Regions from separate parts of the Homo sapiens genome. Here region 2 is linked to region 1. Evidence: promoter capture Hi-C in 16 types of primary human blood cells and fetal thymus (Javierre and others, 2016). All regions are on one chromosome and are shown on one strand. Each heading gives the region's core, a stretch centred on a gene start or on the middle of the fragment in contact. The rest is flanking DNA. Distances are from core to core; before and after follow the strand shown.

Region 1 (3,458 bases), core at 626-3,125:
GGCGCGATGGGTGGCTCACGCCTGTAATCCCAGCACTTTGGGAGGCCGAGGTGGGTGGATCACCTCAGGTCAGGAGTTCGAGACCAGCCTGACCAACATGGTGAAACCCCGTCTCTACTGAAAATACAAAAATTAGCTGTGCCTGGTGGTGGGCGCCTGTAATCCCAGCTACTCAGGAGGTGAAGCAGGAGAATAGCTAGAACCCAGGAGGCTAGATTCTAGCTATTCTGAGCCGAGATTGTGCCATTGCACTCCAGCCTGGGCGACAAAGGAAGACTCCGTCTCAAAAAAAAAAAAAAAGATAATCATTACAACAGGATATGCTGACCTTCATACCCCACCCTCATGAGCTTTGTCCTGCCCAGCCTGTAAACCCTACACTTGATATCACTTTCCGTGCTTTGCCCAATAAAACATCTCAACCAGCTCTTTTCGGAGAGTCAGGGAATTCTCGCTCTCTTGTGCTGCCTCCCTTATACCCAGGCATAAGCTCCAATGAAGACTTGTCTGGGAAAACTTTTTTGGCCTCATGTTAATTTCTGTTGGATTGAGAGCCTAAGAACCCCTGGTAACAATAGGGAGGTAGTGGAACCGGGTTGTCCGGAGGGATATTTTCACTTTTTTGGATGCACTTGTATCTGCAGTTTTTTACAACGAGCATATATTAATGTTGTAATTATGTGTGTGTTTGTGTGTGTGTGTACGTGTGTATGTTTTTTGTTTTTTGTTTTTTTTTTAATTTGAGACAGAGTCTCACTCTGTCGCCCAGGCTGGAGTGCAGTGGCGCGATCTCGGCTCACTGCAGCCTCTGCCTCCCGGGTTCAAGTGATTATCCTGTCTCAGCCACCTGAGTAGCTGGGACTACAAGTGCACACCATCATACCCGGCTAATTTCTGTATTTTTAGTAGAGACGGGGTTTCACCATGTTGGCCAGGATGGTCTCGATCTCCTGACCTCGTGATCTGCCCACCTCGGCCTCCCAAAGTGTTGGGATTACAGGCGTGAGCCACCGCGCCCGGCCTTGTTTGTTTTCTAAATATGTAAAGTCAGAAATTAACCCAAGTAACGAGCATACATATATATGTGTGTGTGTGTGTGTATATATGTATATATATGTGTATGTGTGTATATATGTGTATATGTGTATTATGTGTGTATATGTGTATATATGTGTATATATATGTGTATGTGTGTGTGTGTGTGTATGTATATATATGGAGTCTTGCTCTGTCACCAGGCTGCGGTGCAATGGCGCTATCTCGGCTCACTGCAACTTCTGCCCCCTGGGTTTAAGCGATTCTCCTGCCTCAGTCTCCCGAGTAGCTGCGACTACCAGCGCTCGCCACCACGCCCGCTAATTTTCGTACTTTTAGTAGAGAGGGGGTTTCCCCCTGTTGGCGAGGATGGTCTCGATTTCTTCACCTCGTGATCCGCCCGCCTCGGCCTCCTCAAGTGCTGGGATTACAGGCGTGAGCCACCGTGCCCAGCCCTAACGAGCATATATTAATGTTGTAATTATATGTGTCTGTGTGTGTGTGGTTTTGTTTTCTATATAAAGTCAGACGAGTGTGTGTGTGTAGTTTTGTTTGTTTTCTAAATATATAAAGTCAGAAATAAACCCAAGTAACCCAGCCGCCTGGGCCAGGTGGTATCTGGCCCGCCCCATTCCAGCCTGAACTCCGCCCACCGCGATCCGGAAGCCTAGCGCCCAGTGGGTTGCAGGAAAAACCCGGAGCTGAACACACTGCCCGACCCGGGCCGCTGCGCTCGGGAGCCTGCGCAGAAGCCGTCGGAGGCGCATGCTCTGTAGCGGTCTCCGCAGCCAGGATTGGCGCCCGCGCGGGCCTTCGAGCCCCGCCCGCAGAGCCCCGCCCGCAAAGCCCCACCCCGGTGCGCGGGTATGGCGGCCAGCCTGTGGATGGGCGACGTGAGTGAGGGCAGCCGTCCGGGGTCTGAAGACAAGGAAGCATCTCGGTTTCGCGAGAGAGGAAGGATCTGAGTGGGAGGGGACTTGGGATCCCAGAAAGGGGAGACGTGTGACGGGGGTTCTTTTTGGTGACACAGAAGCGGGTTCCAGCATCTAAGTGAAGAGGCTGAGTCCGTGAGGCTAGGGGTCCTGGGGCCCCACCTGGGTTCGTGGGAGGGAAAGGTGGTGCTTTGGGGACATAGAATGGGAGCAATCCAAGGACTGAGGCGCGCTGTTCTGGGACCGGAGGAGTGGGGTTTCTAGGTCCAAGGGGAGGCTCCCTAAAGCGGGGCAAGCTTGAACCAAAAGAGCTGGGGTTTCAGGCCGCTCAGTGGAGGCGAACCTCGCCCCTCGCTCCCCCAGCGGCGCGTAGCCAGCCCTGGGCTGAACGGGAGGGGCTCTGGAACCCGGAGTGGGAAGCCCGGCCGCCGGCCTGAGCCGCTGTGCTCTTGTTTTTACGCAGCTGGAACCCTACATGGATGAGAACTTCATCTCCAGAGCCTTTGCCACCATGGGGGAGACCGTAATGAGCGTCAAAATTATCCGAAACCGCCTCACTGGGTAAGTCTCATCTCAGGTCTCTCTTAATACATCTCGTTGCAGCTGTCATGTACGAGAATGTAAACATCGTAGTCATGGCTTCTCACTACCCCTAGTAATAGTCACTGTAAAATTATAACAGCTAACATTTTGAGGTCCCAATGAGTGGAAGGATGGCATGTAGCTTAAGGGTAGGACTTGCCAGGCGTTGTGACTCACACCTGTAATCCCAGCACTTTGGGAGGCTGAGGTGGGTGGATCACCTGAGGTCAGGAGTTTGAGACCAGCCTGGCCAACATGGTGAAACCCCGTCTCTACTAAAAATACAAAAATTAGCCGGGTGTGGTGGCAGGCACCTGTAACCCCAGCTACTCCGGAGGCTGAGGCATGAGAATCACTTGAACCCGGGAGGCGAAGGTTGCAGTGAGCTGAGATCGTGCCACTGTACTTCAGCTTGGACAACAAGAGCAAAACAATGTCTCAAAAAAAAAAAAAACAAAAAAACAAAAAACGCAGGACTCAAGCGAGACTGGGTTTGAAAGCTATTTCTACTCTATGACCTTGGGTAAGTTACTTAACTGCTCTGTCTCATTCACTTTGAGTATAAAAATGGAAATAACAGCACCTACCTCCTAGAGTTATGGTGAGGATTAAATGAGTTAATTCACATTCATCATTAGGACAGTGTATGGCATATAGCATATGCTCAGTAAGTATAGTCAGATTACGATCTGCTGAGTAATAAGCAGTTTACATCCATTATCTCCTTAAAACCTCAGAAACTTCTGAGGTAGGTAAATACTATTATGAAGAGGCTTAATAACTTGAAGAGTTACAATAAATAGCCGGGCGCAGTGGCTCTCGCCTGTAATCCTAGCACTTTGGGAGGCCGAGGCAGGCCGGATCACGAGGTCAGGAGATTGAGACCATCCTGGCTAACACGGTGAAACC
Region 2 (3,458 bases), core at 571-3,070, 170 kb before region 1:
TGTTGAGGTATAGGAATGTTAGTGATTTTTCACGTTGATTTTGTATCCTGAAATTTTGCTGAAGTTGTTTATCAGCTTAAGGAGCTTTTGTGCTGAGACCATGAGGTTTTCTGGATACAGGGTCATGTTGTCTACAGACAAAGATAGTTTGACTTCCTCTCTTCCTATTTAGATGCCCTTAAATACCTACTTCATTGAATTTTTAACGTGCAGTGGTATTGAATTTTATCGAAAGCCTTTAATGCATCTGTTGAGATAATCATGTGGTTTTTGTCTTTAGTTCTGTTTATGTGATGAATCATATTTACGAATTTGCATATGTTGAACCAACCTTGCATCCCAGGGCTAAAGCCTACTTGATTGTGGTGGGTAAGCTTTTTGATGTGCTGCGGATTTGATTTGCCAGTATTTTGTTGAGGATTTTTGCATTGATATTCATCAAGAATGTTGACCTGAAGTTTTCTTTTTTTTGTTGTGTCTCTGCCAAGTTTTGGTATCAGGATGATGCTGGCCTCATAGAATGAGTTAGGAAGGAGTCCCTCCTCTTCATTCTTTTGGAATGGTTTCAGCAGGAATGGTACCAGCTCTTCTTGGTACATCTGGTAGAATTCAGCTGTGAATCCATCCGGTCCTGGGCTCTTTTTGGCTGATAGGCTATTTATTACTGACTCAGTTTCAGAGCTCGTTATTGGTCTGTTCAGGGATTCAATTTCTTCCTGGTTCAGTCTTGGGAGGGTGTATGTGTCTAGGAATTATCCATTTTTTCTAGATTTTCTAGTTTATGTACATAGAGGTGTTCATAATATTATCAGATGGTTATTTGTATTTCTGTGGGGTCAGTGGTAATAGCCCCTTTTCATTTCTGATTGTGATTATATTTGAATCTTCTCTCTTTTTGTCTTTATTAGTCTAGCTAGCAGTCTGTTGTATTACTTTTTTCAAAGACCCAACTCCACCAGGCGCAAGGGCTCATGCTTGTAATCCCAGCACTTTGGGAGGCCAAGGTGGATGGATCCCTTGAGGCAAGGAGTTTCAGACCAGCCTGGCCAACATGGCAAAACCCCATCTCTACTAAGAATATAATTAGCCATGCATGGTGGTGCACACCTGTAATCCCAACTACTTGGGAGCCTAAGGCATGAGAATCGCCTCAACCTGGGAGGTGGAGGTTGCAGTTAGCCAAGACTGCACCTCTGTGCTCCAGCCTGGACAACAGAGTGAGACTCTATCTCAAAAAATAATAACAAATAAATAAATAAAATAAAACAAAAAACCCAAATCCCTCCTGGATTTGTTGATCTTCTGAATGAGTTTTCAGTGTCTCAATCTCCTTCAGTTCAGCTCTGATACTGATTATTCTCTTTTGCTAGCTTTGGGATTGATTTGCTCTTGGTTATCTAGTTCTTTTAGTTGTAATGTTAGGTTGTTAAATTGAGATCTTTGTAACTTTTTGATGTGGATACTTAGTGCTCTAAATATCCCTCTTAACACTGCCTTAGCTGTGTCCCAGAGATTCTGGTATGATATATCTTTGTTTTCATTAGTTTCAAAGAACTTCTTGATTTCTGCCTTAATTTCATTATTTACTCAAAAGTCATTCAGGGCCAGTAACAGTGGCTTATGCCTGTAATCTCAGCACTTTGGTAGGCCGAGGCAGGTGGATCACCAGAGGTCAGGAGTTTGAGACCAGCCTGGCCATCATGGTAGAACCCCATCTCTACTAAAAATTCAAAAATTAGCCAGGCATGGTGGTGCATGCCTATAGTCCTGGCTTCTTGAAAGGCCGAGACAGGAGAATTGCTTGAACCTGGAGGCGGAGGTTGCAGTGAGCTGAGATCGTGCCACTGCACTCCAGCTTGGGCGACAGAGCAAGACTCTGTCTCAAAAAAAAAAAAAAAAAAGTCATTCAGGAGCAGGTCATTCAATTTCCATGTAATTGTATGGTTTTAAGTGAATTTTTTTTTTTTTTTTTTTGGAGACGGAGCCTCATTCTGTTGCCCAGGCTGGAGTGCGGTGGTGCGATTCCAACTCACTGCAACCTCCGCTTCTGGGTTCAAGCGATTCTCATGCCTTAGCCTCCCGAGTAGCTGGGATTACAGGTGTGTGCCACCACGCCCAGCTAATTTTGTATTTTTAGTAGAGACAGGGTTTCAGCATGTTAGCCAGGCCGATCTTGAGCTCCTGACCTCAGGTGATCCGCCCTCCTTGGCCTCCCAAAGTGCTGGGATTACAGACGTAAGCCACCACGCCCGGCTGGTTTTAAGTGAATTTCTTAGTCTTAATTTCTAGTTTGATTCCGCTGTGGTCCAAGAGATTGTTTACTATGATTTCAGTTCTTTTGCATTTGCTGAGAAGTGTTTTACTTCCGATTATGCAACCAATTTTAGAGTATATGCCATGTGGCAATGAGAAGAATGTGTATTCTGTTTTTCATTTGTTTGTTTGTTTTTCTGAGACAGAGTCTTGGTGTGTCACCCAGGCTGGAGTGCAGTGGTGCGATCTCGGCTCATTGCAGCCTCCACCTCCCAGATTCAAACAATTCTCCTGCCTCAGCCTCCCGAGTAGCTGGGACTACAGGCATGTGCCACCAATCTTAGCAAATTTTTGGACTTTTAGTAGAGACAGGGTTTCACCATGTTGGCCAGGCTGGTCTTGAACTCCTGACCTCAAGTGATCTGCCTGCCTCGGCCTCCCAAAGTGCTAGGATTACAGGCATGAGCCACCACGCCTGACCAATTCTGTTGTTTTTGGATGGAGGGTTCTGTAGGTGTCTTATCAGGTCCCTTTCACCCACTGCTGTTTGAATCCTGAATATCTTTGTTAATTTTCTGTCTCGATGATCTAATAATGTCAGTGGGGTGTTAAAGACTCTCACTATTATTTTGTGGGAAACTAAGTCCCTTTGAAGGTCTCTAAGAACTTGCTTTATGAATCTGGGTGCTCCTATGTTGGGTATATATATGTGGCGGTGTGAGCCACCGTGCCCAGCCTTGTGTTTTTTTAAATAATGCTATCCAATTATTTTCAGTAGCAATTGATTTGTGAGGGCATTTTGAACCTTGTAAGACACCAAATAATGACGTGTTTTTATTAGTCTTGTGATACTAGTATCCACCTAGGTCATTAGATATTTAAAATCTGCACTTTATATAGGACCAACGATATTTAAAAAAATAGTGAAGTATCTTTCTTACACTAGTGTTGATGATGTGTATATTTCTTGTTTACCTGAGTATAGGGCTCATAGAGAAATGGTTGTTCTTTGGGAAAGCTTAGGTGAGTTGATTGTTTATTAAGCAAGCTTAAAAATTAGAGCCCTCAGGCTGGGCGAGATGGCTCACGCCTGTAATCCCAGCACTTTGGGAGGTTGAGGCAGGTGGATCACGAGGTCAAGAGATCGAGACAACCCTGGCCAACATGGTGAAACCCTGTCTCTACTAAAAATACAAAAATTAGCT

Evidence for each region. The method cuts DNA at HindIII sites, captures the fragments that hold promoters and counts their contacts. A CHiCAGO score of 5 or more calls a contact.
Region 2: a contact is called between a fragment that was not itself captured here and the fragment with the promoter of TRNAU1AP in region 1, in 1 of 17 cell types (endothelial precursors). The highest score is 5.0, in endothelial precursors.

Annotation. Positions count from the first base shown.
Region 1 is chr1:28,551,210-28,554,667 of GRCh38, forward strand. It overlaps TRNAU1AP (tRNA selenocysteine 1 associated protein 1), which reads left to right and starts at 1,876. Exons shown (of 9, transcript NM_017846.5): 1 at 1,876-1,928; 2 at 2,431-2,528. The coding sequence starts at 1,902. RefSeq lists enhancers at 1,588-1,882, 1,606-1,665 and silencers at 1,816-1,955, 2,888-3,182. The HindIII fragment of the contact is 4,615 bases long and covers 1-2,261 here.
Region 2 is chr1:28,383,660-28,387,117 of GRCh38, forward strand. All of the region lies in intron 1 of PHACTR4 (phosphatase and actin regulator 4), which reads left to right. Among named protein-coding and RNA genes, the nearest start is that of PHACTR4, 16 kb to the left of the region's middle. The HindIII fragment of the contact is 2,897 bases long and covers 373-3,269 here.